Linked DNA regions of Homo sapiens: region 1 is linked to region 2. The links are contacts of gene promoters, found by promoter capture Hi-C in blood cells and fetal thymus (Javierre and others, 2016). All regions are on one chromosome and are shown on one strand. Each heading gives the region's core, a stretch centred on a gene start or on the middle of the fragment in contact. The rest is flanking DNA. Distances are from core to core; before and after follow the strand shown. Region 1 holds the start of CERS1 (ceramide synthase 1). Region 2 overlaps SUGP2 (SURP and G-patch domain containing 2).

Region 1 (6,741 bases), core at 1,228-3,727, 110 kb before region 2:
TGGGAAGGCCTGTCCCCCATGCCCACAGCCACCTGGAGCATAAACAGAGCCCACAGGCGCCTGCCAAGGCTAAACTTAGTGCCCAGCTGTCCGGCCGCCGCGGTGCTGGGAGGGGAGTGAGGGGGGAGGCCCCGAGGGGAGCAGGAGGGCTCTGGGGGCCAGAAGGGGGACACTTGGGCTTACGATGAGGGAGACGGATGGATGCGTCAGCCCAAGGGAGTTGGGCTGGTGGGGGTGACCCTTGAAGGGAACATGGAGGGGGTTATATGGGGGCATCTTGGGAAACACAGAGAGCCCCATGGGACCGACACAGAGGGGAGAGGAAGAACTTGTGAGGAAGCCGCCCCCTCAGTGGGAGATTCTGGAGAGGCTAGAGGGCTGGGAGAGACTAGGGGGAAGGTGTGGCGGGGACATGGGAACCTGGGGGCGATGAAAGGGGAGGAGGGGCTGGAGGCAGAAAAAGGGGACAGGAGGCGGAAAAGGTGTCACAGGCGAGGTGAGACCCTGAGGGGACATTGGGAGTGCAGAGGAAGCTGCTGGCTCCAAGGCAGGGGTTGGGGAGTGCGGTGGGTGGGTGGGTGGCGGGGCGCGGCTCCAGAGCTGCCCGGCCAAGCCCCACCCCTGGACAAGTCCCACCCCCTTCCCAGAGGCTGAGGGGGCCGGAGCCCAGAGCACCCAGCAGTTGTCATGGAGACAGCTGGAGCCGGCTCCGGTAACCCCTGGCAACCAGGCTGCTGCCAAGAAGATCAGCTTTGGAACACCCGGCAGCCCCTCCACCCATTTCTGAGGAAGGGCGAGCCTCGAAATGGGGCGAGCACCCCACCCAAGGGGCTGGGGAGGGCCCCCGGGGCTCGGCCCTGGTAGTCTACCAGCCGCCACATCCTCCTGTCCCGCAGGGGTGGGGGACGGCTTGCCCTCCTGGGTCTCGGGCTTCCCAGCTGGAAACTGGGAAGAAGGCAGGGGCAACAAGCAGGATAAAGACCACTGCGGACCCAGGGAGGGGCCCTGGACAGCCCTGTCTCCCCCTCCCACAGTAGGGGTGTGGCTGGGGTCTCTCCCTCATGTGGGTGATATGGGGACGGGAGTGGGGAGAGTGGCAGTCAGACAACATCCCATCATCGACCTCACAAGGGCCAGCCTCTTCCCGGCCAGCAGAGAAAGGCCCCTTTGTTGGCGCTGGGCACATTGTCCCTGCACCCTCCAGCCAGACGGGCGGGGTGACACCAGCTGGTCCACGGGGGTGTCCAGGCCAAGCTAAAGGCCCAAACACCTTCCAACCAGCTCCTGCCACAGCGACCCCTCCCCAGGGAAGTGAGTGGGGTCAGGCGCCAATGTCACCATCATGGTCACTCTCTCGCAGGGGCGATGGTCTCCGCAGAAACTGGGGAATTCTGCTGTCGCCTCTTGGAGGCAGCACAGTCCAACCCTGAAGCCCCGGGCCATGTCACCTCCAAGGGAGCGACCACTGGCGTGGCCAGAGCACCCAGGCCCTTGCCATCCCTGGTCGGAGGGTGGCGCTGACCCCAGATAGGCACAAGGCAGCGACCGGGCAGCTCCTGCCTCTTCCCGATTACAGCGGGCAAGCCGGCCCCGCCGCCGCACGGACCCAGCAGAAAACGGGCAGCGGACCTCGCTCCGGGCCGGGGCGCAGCCCGCATGGCAGGGAGGCGCATGGCGCAGGCCGCGGTGCGCCGAGCCCTCCCGTTCCCGGTCCTGGGCTTCTCAGTGTCTGGCTCGGCCCTGCCGGAAAGAGCGCGCGGTGGCCGGAGCCATCCACCGCGCGGGGCCCCCTGGTCCCAAACTGACCGGAAAGGGCCGTGCCTCGGTCCCCCACGTCTCAAACATCCCACCTGTCTCGGGCCCCCCATGTCCCAGACTCACCCCAGCCCGGCCACACCCCCGCATCTACCCGGTTCCCCCACGCAGCACTGTCTGAAGGGGGCGCGCGGCGGCCCGAGAGACCTTATCCTGGGGCTCCAACGTCCTGGGCCTCTCCAGCCCGAGGCCCCCACCCACGTTCCGGCGACCCCTTCATCCGCAGCAGCCAGCGCTGGAAGAAAGGAACGCGCCGGCGGCCCCAGGTCCCCGGTCCCGGCTTCCCCCAGTCCGGGGTCCCCTCGTCCCGGCCCCCGGCCACACTGACCCGAAAGAGGCGCGCAGTGGCCGCGGAGCGCAGGGCGGTCCAGCCCAGCGCGCCGAGCGCCAGCAGCAGCAGCTCGGGCGGCGCCAGGTGCGCGTGCTCAGCCAGGCCGCGACGCGCCAGCCCCCAGCCGCAGTCCGTGCAGCCCCGCGCCGCCGCCAGCGCGCTGCCCCAGCCGCGCTGCACTAGCTGCGCGTAGCTCGGCATGGGCTCGGGCCCCGTCGGCCCCGCCGCGGGCCCCGCCGCCGCCATACCGCCCGCTCGCCCGCCGTGCCCGTCGCCTGCGCCCGCCCGCGGTAGCCGACGGAGCCGCGCGCCCCGCGTCACGCGCCGCAGCTGGGCCGGGGGCGCGCGGGCGGGAGAGCGGAGGGCGGAGGGGCGGGACCGGCGCAAGCTCCGCCCCGCTGGGGGCGCGGCTGGGGGGCGGCCAGCGGGGACGCGGGGCGCCCTGGAGGCGGGCCCGCGCCCCTGCCCGTTTCCCAGCAGAGAAACCCAGGCGCGGGGGCCGGAGCTGGGGGCCCGTTGGACCTGGACCCCGAGAGACCCCGCGCACCGCCGTGTCGCGCCCCCATGCCTGCCCCGCGCGCCCCCCGCTCCCCCACCCCACCGCGCCGTGCCCGTGACGGGGGGCACGGGGGACACTAGCAGGCAGTCCCCTCGACTGGCGACCCCCGCTTCTCCCGGCCCTCCAGCACGCCACGCCGCTCCCGCTCCATCGCCCCGGCCCGCTCCGACCTCACCGTTCTTGGAGCCCTCGCTCCTTCTCAAGGACCCGAGGCCTGGCACGCCTTGGCACAGTCTTGGGACCATCCCGTGGCCCTCCCGCATTCAGGAGGCGTAGGCTCAATGAAACATTCTCATTCTTCAAAAGGACACGGCCCACGCCAGGGCGTTGGGAGGCGCACCTAGTGGAGACGCAGCTCTCTGCCCTACACCAGGAGCTTGGCAATGGGGTTCCAGCTTGGACGCGGGTACCCTGGGCACTTCCCAGGCATCTTCTTCTGCAGGTCTGCACAGCGGGCTACTGGGACAAAGGTGTGATGGGGGCTGCTGAGATTAGGGGGTTCTCTGAGGGTCACTTGCTGCTGTGACCCTGGGGAACCCGGGGGGGGGGCTCCCCAACATCAGGTTAATACATGAGTTGCAGAGAGGCTGCAGGAGTGGGTGCCAACGTGGGAGGGACTCCCAATCTGGATCGACTGTGACATCATTGGGACCACCATAAGTGACTTTCCAATGCACTGTTCATTGACAAGGCCCTGTGCCCAAAGCCACTGAAGGCCATCGAGGAAGACACTGGTCACCTCTGTTAGGACCGCCATCTCCCCAGGCACTGCTGCACCCCCCCTCCATCCTAGCCCGCAGGATGTCCCCACACCTGGCCTTCAAGGTGCAGGATGCAGGGATGAGTCCTGCAGCAGCCGCGCTGGCTCCCGAACACCTGCACCTGAACTTCAGGGGCACAGGTGAACACACCTTCCCCTTGCCCCACACCGAGTCCCCCACAACACATCCAGGTGGCCCTGCATCTGGCCACTTCTCTGCATCTGCACAGCCTTGCCCCCCGCTCCCCGCCACCACCACCACTACCACCACTACCCTCTTCCGTCTGGTATCCTGGCTTCCTCCTCACCCCACAGAGGTGAGAAGGTGGCTGCGACGCTGTTGGCCTGTTCCTCGTCTGCTTGCAGCCCTCTATGGCTCCTGTTCCACTCAGGGAAAGCCCAAGTCCTCACTGGCTGCCCTCACAGCGCCCTGTTTCCCTCCGCCTGTGGGCTTTTCTGCTGTTCTTCCAACATGCCAAGCTCTGTCCTGCCTCAGGGCCTTTGCACTAGCTGTTCCCCCCTCCTGAAATGCTGTTCCCCTAGGTACCTGCATGGCTCTTCTGCCACCTGCTCAGGCTGCCCCCGACTCTGAAGTCACACGCCCCTCATGTCTTCATGTCTGCTTGGCACTTGTCACCATCTGCCCCTACATACATACAGCTCATTTTTTTTTTTGAGTTGGAGTCTTGCTCCGTTGCCCAGACTGGAGTGCAGTGGCGCAATCTCAGCTGACCGCAACCTCCGCCTCCCAGGTTCAAGGGATTCTCCTGCCTCAGTCTCCCGAGTAGCTGGGATTACAGGCGCCTGCTATCACACCCAGCTAATCTTTGTATTTTCTGTAGAGACAGGGTTTTGCCATATTGGCCGGGCTGGTCTCGAACTCCTGACCTCAAGTGATCTGCCTGTCTTGGCCTCCCAAAGTGCTGGGATTACAGGCATGAGCCACCGTGCCTGGCCCCACTCTTTATTCTTGAACGTGGACTCCATGTGGACTAGGGGCCTAGTGTAGGGGTGGGGCACGAGGCTTGGCCTGGCCAATAGTTCAGGTCCAGCCGGAGGCCAGAGATGTGACTAACGCCACAACCTGCCTGGCAGGCAGAGGGGGACGAGGGGGATATGCTCTCAAAGGTCCAGCCAGGCCTGTGGGGCAGCCGTGGACAGTCCCAGCCACCTCCCTCCACCCTCTCGGCCAGCACTATCTGGTCACCATGGCGCCCATCGGTCACGGGAGAGGCGCCACCCACCCACCCACTAGCCCCAGCTCAGCCTCGAATTTCTTTTTGGCGGGTCCAGCCAGGAGGCTGCCAACGGGTGGGTGCAGGGCAGGAATGGAAGGCGGCTCTACTGGCAGCTGGGGACCAGGCACCCAAGGCTGGGCGGAGGTCAGTCTTGAGGCCAGTGTCCCCCCACCCACCCCAAGGTCTCCTCCCTCCAGAAAGCTCGGCCTGGACCCCTCCTAATGTCCCTGTCCAGGGAGTCCTCTTTTGCCACTTCCCTCCCCTACCAGGCTGGGGGTGGGGGTCGCTTGCTGTCCTGCCCTGGCAACCAGAGACGGGGTCTGGTTTCAAATGAATAGGCCTGGGTGTGGCTTGGGGAAACCCAGTCTTATCTTTTCCCTGGGAGATAAGCCCAGGCCAGGCTCAGAGGTCAAAGGGCATGCATCCCCATCCAGCGCCCCTTGACCTCACAGCCCTGTGCCACCGAGGGACCTCTGCACCGGTCATGCCCACTGCCAGGGTGCCTGTCCCCCTAGAACCTAGCCTGGCAGCTCCTTTTTGTTGTTCGGGTGGGCACAGCTCAATGGTGACATCTGGGAGGCTCCGGCCAGCCCTGCTGCCACCCACCCACCTCCCTCCCTAAATGGTGCGGCCGCCTCTCATCGCGGCTGGGTGCTTGGCCCCAGGACCCTGCCACAGCAGGACTCTGCCTTGGAGGAGGGTTTGCGGGGCGGCAGGAGCAGCACCTGGGGTTAACGCTGACCCTGCAGGGCCCCTCCGGCTTTGCTGAGCTGAGGCCTGAGTTTTTCCTGCCCTGGCCCCCACTTCCTCCAGGCCACTAGGGGTTCTCATTTTGAATCTTGGTGCCCCTCATGATAGCGGCATGACTTCTCTGTGCCTCAGTTTCCCCCGATGCCAACCAGGGCTGCTCAGTGGCCTCTAGGGGCCAGGGTGAAGCATGGGGACAGGGCTGTGCTGCCTCTGGCCTGCAGGAGCAGGTTGTGGCTGTGTGAGGGGCGGGGTGGGGGTCTGCACACCTGCTGCTCGTCACAGACCCTGGTCTCCAGGAACAGCCCTGGATGCCAGTGCCCCAGGACTCTCCCTGAGCGTCAGCTCCCACACGCCCCCAGCAAAGTGACCAGAGCACATCATCAGGTGGAACACCCTGGAGTTGAGATATTTATTAACAGATGGGGGTGCTGGGGGTGGGCTCCTGCCCCCAGAGGGGATGCAGGTGGATGCCGGGTGGGGAGGGCTGCAGGGCTGGCTCCTGGCCTCTGTCCTGGCTTCATGGTCCTGACAGCTCTGGGCCAGCCTCAGGCGCTGGGAGCGTACTGTAGCACCAGCCTGTCAAAGTCGTTCTCCTTTAGCAAGACACATGGCAACACAGGGTGGGGGCAGGGTGTGGGGAGACAGGTGGAGGGAGAGAGAGAGGGCGCATGTGAGCCCAGGCTGAGCTCCAGGCGCCCCCTGGCCTGGTTCTCGGGGACAGGCCATCCCCACCACTCACCTTGGCCTGGTACTCCTTGATGAAGGGATGGGACCTGTGGGCATCCTTCAGCTGGGACAGGTATCGGTTTGTCACCTGCAGGGGAGGCAGGGAGGCAGGTGAGCCGAACACGGGGACCCCACGGTGGCTCTGACCTGCTGGACAGGGGTGGATTGGGGTGAGAGCCACAGTACCCCAGGGGGCTCCTCACCCTGCCTTGGGACTGGGCTGATCTCGGAGAACCTTCAGGGTGGGGGTGGAGGGATGGGCCTGCCCCCTGGAGAGGCGCTGGCATGGAGCTGGCCTCCGTACATGGTGGGGGATGTATTGTGGTGTTCAGGGGAGCAGGTCGGGCAGGGCCCCAGGTGAGGATGGGTTGGGGGGCACAGGGTTTGTGAGGGAGGTGGGCTGCGGTAGGCATACTGTATACAGAGTTTTCCCAGGGGCCTAGGGATTAGGGCCTGGACCCCAGGCTGGGGTCCCAGGGTCTGGACATTAGGGTTGGCCTGGAGCCCTGGGGGCCGCTTACCTCAGGGGGCTTGCCCAGGTGCTGGGACAGGACGATGAGGT
Region 2 (7,172 bases), core at 3,619-6,118:
TCGATAGAATTTGAAAGCAGAACTATTTTGGTCATGTAGAAACCTGGGGCACAGAGGAAATACATTGGGTAACCAGATGGAATCTCTCAACATTTTTATTTGCTGAAACTGCTGGGATTGATCCAAGGAAGGTGGAGGTGGGACAAGGGAAAGAATAACCTGACCAGTCTCTACGCGGCTATGGCTTGATGGTGCAGCCTCTCAATGATAGAAAATTTGAGGAGTACTAGTAACTTAATAAGGAGCTAGAATTCAAGAAGCCTAACTGCTTTCCAGGGGACAGAGGCGGACGAACAAGGTATGCAGGGCTTGGGAAAATGCTGGAATAGAGATCTGGCTTGAGACCCATCTCACCCTTTCTGGTTACATCACTGGCCTCTCTGGGCCTCCATGTGCCCATTTTGACTCTGGTTCCTCCCAGGTATGAGAAGCATGGAGCGATGCCAGGAGGAGCTGCACAGTTACTGCTGGAACATGTGCACCATGGAACCGTAAGGTGCCCCCCGAGGAGGCTCCTCACCCCTAGCACTTCCCGCTCTGGGGCCTGCAGTCCACCTACATGGGCGTGGAGATGAGGCCTCTCTGTGCCTCAGGGGTCTGGTGGCCACCTCGACTTGTAACCACAGCTATGAAGCTGTGGCTGGTATGAGAAACTTGAAACACTCCCGAAAGCACCAAAGTCCACTTGGACCAAAGGAAAAATGGCCCTCGTAAGGCAACTCAACCTCATAAATGTGCCAAGTCCCCCCAGTTAGCATATTAATATATCCCAATAAAATCCCATTCTGAATCAGGGCAAGATGGTTCTAAAGTTCATAAAGAAAAATAATATGTAAGAGTATCTGGGAAAACTCTGAACAAGACTCATAAGGGGTTCCAGCCCCACCAAGCACTATAAAATGCCCCAAAGCCTCTAGAGTTAAACAGCATAGTAGTCCATAAGGCAGACCAAAGGAACAGAATAGAAAGACCAGAAACCCAGCATTTGATTAAGGTAACCTCTCAAACTACTACAAAAAAGGGGTGGGTCTTTCAAAGAATGGTATTGGAAAAGCTGGACGGCTTTATAATTATTATTACACATTTTTAGAGATGGGGTCTCACTCTGTCGTCCAGGCTAGAGTGCAGTGGTGTGATCACAGCTCACTGCAGCCTCAAACTCCTGGGCTCAAGAAATCTTCCTACATCAGCCACCCAAGTAGTTAGGACCACAGGCAAATGCCACTATACCAGGCTAACAAACACACACACACACACACACACACACACACACACACACACACACACACCACACACACACACCACACACACATACAACTAAATATCAGCAGAAACAAATGAATCTGGGCCGGGCATGGTGGCTCATGCCTCCCAGCACATTTTGGGAGGCTGAGGCAGGCAGATCACCTGAGGTCAGGAATCCAAGACTAGCCTGGCCAACATGGTGAAACCCCGTCTCTACTAAAAATACAAAAATTAGCTGGGTGACACCTGTAATCCCAGCTACTTGGGAATCTGAGGCAGGAGAATCGCTTGAACCCGAGAGGCGGAGGTTGCAGTGAGCTGAGATCACACCACTGCACTCCAGCTTGGGCGACAGAGTGAAATTCCGTCTCAAAAATAAATAAATAAATAAAACGGATTGTATGACAACTTTATAACATAACCACACCCACAAAATGAATTAACTCAATAAGCTTGAGCACATTAGAATTAAATTTTTTCTAAAGGCAAAAGAAACACAAAGTCATCTTGGCCCATTTACAAGCATGGCTGGATAGCGTCCAACACCTTGCCCAGTATTGTGGTCAGGATCCAGGGCTCTCCTTCCAGGGAAGGACAGGACAGAGTACTCTGAAGGACACTGCTCAGAAAAGGCTGTCACAGATGGGGAGGAATCACCCAAAACCCAACAAGTACTACAGCCCAAGTACCCAGGCTAATGCAAAATTCTCCTTTAAACTGTACTTTTCATTGAAAAAAAAGAAAGTGAAAAAGAAAAAAGGACTCATGGGATGCCCCCAGCTGCCCTGCACTGAGCTGTCCTCCTTATCCAACCCTGCCAGAGGAAATCCCACATACACAGTGGACAGGTCCGACCCCGAGGTCTACAGGGCCCAGCAGCTCCCCAAGGCCACTACTGCCTGTAAAAGGCAAAACCTGACTGTAAGCCTGGTCAGGCTTCCCGTCTGTAGGTGGTCAGTGCCCCACAAGGCAGGTGGTACCTTAGTGCAGGACCCAGTCATAAGCCAAGGCTGCGGAGGGGAGTAGGGCTTGGCTTGTGCAATCAGGTCCCAAGCAAGTTGAAAGAGTATGTTCTGTCACCACTGAATCCCATAAATGCTCTGAGAAATGCACGTTTTCAACTGTAATTTTAACTGGATGAAGGCATGACTGTCCAACAAGCTAGGACCAGCACGAGGAGTTGAGAGCCCCCTCAGTAGGGTTCTGGCTCAGTAATGGGAAGATGGGTGCCTCCTACCGGCAGCCTTTCTCTGGAGGGGACATCTCATGTCACCCCGGGGAAAAACCCCAGGGGCAGTGCTGGCTCCTCACCCAGGTTTTCTTGCCTATGGGCTGTGTGCTTTTGAGCTGAGCTCCACCTATCCAAGGAATGGAGAGGGCAAAGGTACCTGCTCCCAGCATGAGCACGCCACCTTATCCCTGTGTAGAAGTGCCTGCTGTCAGACCTGGGCAAGGGCTGACTATCACTACTATCATGCAGTGAGCAGCAAATCCTCACCTCTCTCCCCTCCCCTGGCCAACTCCTATTTAGCCTTTGGATGCAGATTAAATGTCCCTCTGGGGAGGTTTTTCCTGATGCCCGAGATGAAGGCAGGTCCCCTAGAACAGATTTTTTTTTTTTGAGATGGAGTTTCACTCTTGTTGCCCAGGCTGGAGTGCAATGGCGCGATCTCGGCTCACTGCAACCTCCGCCTCCCAGGTTCAAGCAATTCTCCTGCCTCAGCCTCCCCCGAGTAGCTGGGATTACAGGCACCTGCCACTACACCCGGCTAATTTTTTTTATTTTTAGTATAGAGACGGGGTTTCACTATGTTGGCAAGGCTGGTCTCAAATGCCTGACCTCATGATCCACCCGCCTCAGCCTCCCAAAGTGCGGGGATTACAAGCATGAGCCATTGCACCTAGCCTTTTTTTTTTTTTTTTTTTTTGGAGATGAAGTCTCGCTCTGTTGCCCAGGCTGGAATGCAGTGGCTCAATCTCAGCTCACTGAAACCTCCGCCTCCCGGGTTTAAGCGATTCTCATGCCTCAGCCTCCCAAGCAGCTGGGATTACAGGTGCTTGCCACCATGCCCGGCTAATTTTTGTATTTTTGTAGAGATGGGGTTTTAGCATGGTGGCCAGGCTGGTCTCGAACTCCTGAACTCGGGTGATTAGAACAGATCTTTCTCCCTTAGGCCCCTGGCTCAGCTGAAGTGAAGTCATGACTTACTCCTGGTATAACCCCCATAGTAGGAATGCATTGGCCAGGCTGTGGGCTGGCTCAGGACATGCTTGTGGCGTGAACACACTCAAATCTAAAGGGTGTAATGGCCAGTTGCAGTGGAGCACACCTGTGGTCCCAGCTACTCTGGAGGCTGAAACAGGAGGATCACTTGAGCCCAGGAATTCAAATCCAGCCTAAGCAACATCCTTAGACTTTGTCTCTCTGAGAAAGAAAAAGGTGTGATGAGACCCGGGGGGGTACGTACCACAGGTCAGGGTTATCGGTGCTGTTTTCTATGCTGAATTGTTCGATCTCTGGTCCCACCTGAGCAACAAATCTAGCCAGTTTCTCTGCAGTCTCCATTGTCTTCATGTCAACTACAAAACATAAAGCACCTGTCAGGCATGACTCCTGAGCTGCTGCTCCCCGTGTAAACACTGCAGGGTTGTGGAGGCTGATTATAAAGATGGCCTGCATGTCCCCTCCCTGTAGCCTTGCCCTTCGTCACATGTGGACCCTTTGTCACCAAGAAGTGAACTCTGTGTATCCCCACCTTGAATCAGGGCTGGTCCTGGGACTCACATCAGCTATAGAATGTGGTGGAAAAGCCCATTGCCAGTTCCAAGCCTGGGCCTTGGAGGACTTGAGTACTTCCACTGTCTCTCCTGAAGCCCCAACCCCAATTGCCAGGTGAACAAACATGGGCTGGCTGCTGGGGGGATGACAGGCATGTGGCCCAGCCACACCATCATCTCAGCTGACAGCCTGGACACCTGCCACTGACCGCAGACATGTGTGGGCTAGCTCAGCAGATGACCCAGCCACTGGCAAATTCACAATACCGGACGCCTCCTGGTTGGTTTGTTTGGTTTTTTTTTGAGATGGAGTCTTGCTCTGTCGCCCAGGCTGGAGTGCAGTGGTGAGATCTTGGCTCAATGCAACCTCCGCCTCCCGGGTTCAAGCGATTCTCCTAGCTCAGCCTCCCGAGTAGCTGGGACTACAGGCATGTGCCACCACGCCCAGCTAATTTTTTGTATTTTTAGTAGAGATCGGGTTTCACCATGTTGCCCAGGCTGGTTGCGAACTCCTGAGCTCAGGCAATCCACCCGCCTTGGCCTCCCAAAGTGCTGGGATTACAAGTGTGAGCCACCACGCCCAGCTGATGCCTCCTGTTTTAAGCCACAGTTTGGAACGGCTCACGACACAGCAACACCTAAATAATGCAGCAGTTGTGGACACTTTTTTGCTCTCTCCTTCCCACTTAGTGCTTAGGAAGCACTGGCCAGAGAGCAGGCCTGTGGTACAGAGAGAAAGAAACAGCTAAGGTGACAGAAGAAACAGAAGGGGTGAAGTTAGTCGATTCGGAGGAAGCAGTGCAGGTCAGCGAACCCCAAGAACAGGAACTGTGGAGACCCTGGGGATGAGGAGGCGCAATGAGAACAAGGCAGTCCCGAAGACTATCAAGGGAGGCCAGGATATAGCAGGACATGGGATCCCAAGTTCAGGCAATGCACCGCCCACGGCCCCAGCAGCAGGACCCTGTCGGGGAGCACGAAGGCATGGGGCAGCACCTCATACCAGCTCCGCTCTCAGAAGAGGAGGAGGGAGCTGCAGGACTCGCATGCAGCTCTCTCAAGAAAGCAAGAGAGAAAGCGCCAACATGTACACTTGTCCTGGCCAGGTCCCTAGAGCTTTTATCCACTGCCTTGCCTAGATTGCAGGCCCCCCCAATTCTAAAGAGACCCTGGAGATGGGAGAGTAGGGACTGGGGCCCAGAGGAGGGGGACAGGAGTGAGCACCCACTGTCAGCAGATGGGCAGGGAGAAGAGGTCTGAGGTGCTTCAGAGATGTCCACTCCTGCTGGCTTGGGGGATGGGCCTGAGGCTTCTAAGCTGGGGTCCTGAGGAGAAGGTCCAACTGGGTCTGGCGGGCAGTCCTTGGCAGCATCATTTCTGTCTGGCAGGGATGGTTTTGCCTGTGAGAGGCCTGGAGCCTGCCGGCCGTGGTGTTTCAGCCTGGTGCCTGAGGATAGGAGGGTCTGGGTCCCGGTGGTCGCTCTCCTCGCCTTCCAGCCCCGGAGCCCTTGAGCACGGAGGAGCCCCCGCCGCTGCCACGGAAGGAGTTTCTTCTTGAGGTTGCGGACAGCCCGGGAGTACAGCATGGCCCTCACTGCACAGTCTGCTGAGGTCGGCTTCTGGTCGGCTCCTCGCAAGTTCTCGCTCATCCGCTGCATTTCTGCCAACTTCAGCTTGTAATATTTATACTCCAGACTATTTTCATCAGACAAAAACCTAGATAACAAAACAAGCATAACGGGACATTTATGAAAACACCACCAGGTCCCAAATTGTTCCTTCAAACACAAACCCTTTCTAAGTGGCCAACTCCTCACTGTCCTCTCCTGTCTCAGAGGCTCTGCCTGGCTCTACTGAGGACCCAGAGCTAGGCCCAAGACAGCTGCCCTGCTAAGAGTGACCACAGGGCAATCGGGAGTTTGAACTGAGTTCCTCCTTGATTTCCATCAGCAGCAGCCGTGAGGGAGCTCCCAGCTCTTGATGGCCTGGAAACACAAACCAGTCACCTTGGAGCCATAGCACCCTGGCAGGCAGAATTGACACCTTTTAAATGGCCCAGCCAGGATGAGTGCTCGGTGAGCTTTTGACTGCATCAAGGAAAGTGTGATGTGAACCACAAGAGAACATTAACCAAGGAGCCTGCGGCCCAGGTGTGAAATCTTATGACCCAGTCATCATGATGAGAACAGTAAAGAGAAGGTTGAGCTACATGTACTAACAGAAAAATATTCAGCTGGGCGTGGTGGCTCACACCTGTAATCCCAGCACTTTGAGAGGCTGAGGCGGGAGGATTGCTTGAGCCCAGGAGTTCAAGACCAGCCTGGGCAACAAAACAAGATCCCATTTCCACAAAATAAAAAAATTAGCCAGGGTGGTGGTGCATGCCTATAGTCCCAGCTACTCTGGAGGCTAAGGTGGGAGGATCACTTGAGCCCAGGAAGTCGAGAGGCTGTGGTGAGCTGTGATTGCACCACTGCACTCCAGTCTGGGCAACAGAGCAAGACCCTATCTTTAAAAAAAAAAAAAACCTTCTCCTTCTAGTGTCTTTACTTTTTTCATCATTTTCCTTCTAGCTTCATGAGTTGATTACAGCTCACCGCAGCCTCGACCTTCTGGGTTCAGGTGATCCTCCCACCTCAGCCTCCCCAGTAGCTGGGACTACAGGCGCGCACCACCACGCCTGGCTAATTTTTGTGTTTTTGGTTGAGAGGACATTTCACCATGTTGCCTAGGCTGATCTCAAACTCTTGGGCTCAAGGTAGCCATACGCCTCAGCCTCTCAAAGTGCTGGGATTACAGGTGTGAGCCACTGCACCTGGCCCACTATTTCTAATAAAGTCACCTGAAGTCACTCTTTCTCTTAAGTATTTTTATGACTGCATCTGGTATATAATGTTCTTCTTGCCACTTCCTTCTAAATTGCTTCTAATTTCAGCTATGATTACCCTTCACTCAAAAGTTATTCAGAAACATGTTTTATTTTGGTTGTTGCTGGTTTCTAGTTTGCTGTATTGGCATAATGTGGCCCACGTGAATTTCCTGGGTGTGCTGTGATTTTCTCTGTGATTTCATACATAACGAACTTTTAAGATGGGCGTGGTGGCTCACGCCTGTAATCCCAGCACTTTGGGAGGCGGAAGCAGGTGGGT

Evidence for each region. The method cuts DNA at HindIII sites, captures the fragments that hold promoters and counts their contacts. A CHiCAGO score of 5 or more calls a contact.
Region 1: a contact is called between the fragment with the promoter of CERS1 here and a fragment that was not itself captured in region 2, in 1 of 17 cell types (monocytes). The highest score is 5.6, in monocytes.

Annotation. Positions count from the first base shown.
Region 1 is chr19:18,893,681-18,900,421 of GRCh38, forward strand. It overlaps CERS1 (ceramide synthase 1), which reads right to left and starts at 2,478. Exons shown (of 8, transcript NM_021267.5): 1 at 2,144-2,478. The coding sequence starts at 2,392. It overlaps GDF1 (growth differentiation factor 1), which reads right to left and starts at 2,478. Exons shown (of 8, transcript NM_001492.6): 1 at 2,144-2,478. COPE (coat protein complex I subunit epsilon) reads right to left here. Exons shown (of 10, transcript NM_007263.4): 8 at 6,701-6,741; 9 at 6,193-6,267; 10 at 5,834-6,046. The coding sequence ends at 5,999. RefSeq lists a silencer at 1,479-1,528. The HindIII fragment of the contact is 17,655 bases long and covers 1-6,741 here.
Region 2 is chr19:19,004,604-19,011,775 of GRCh38, forward strand. SUGP2 (SURP and G-patch domain containing 2) reads right to left here. Exons shown (of 11, transcript NM_001017392.5): 5 at 5,252-5,739; 6 at 3,714-3,825; 7 at 1-43. Among named protein-coding and RNA genes, the nearest start is that of SUGP2, 25 kb to the right of the region's middle. The HindIII fragment of the contact is 6,346 bases long and covers 1,696-7,172 here.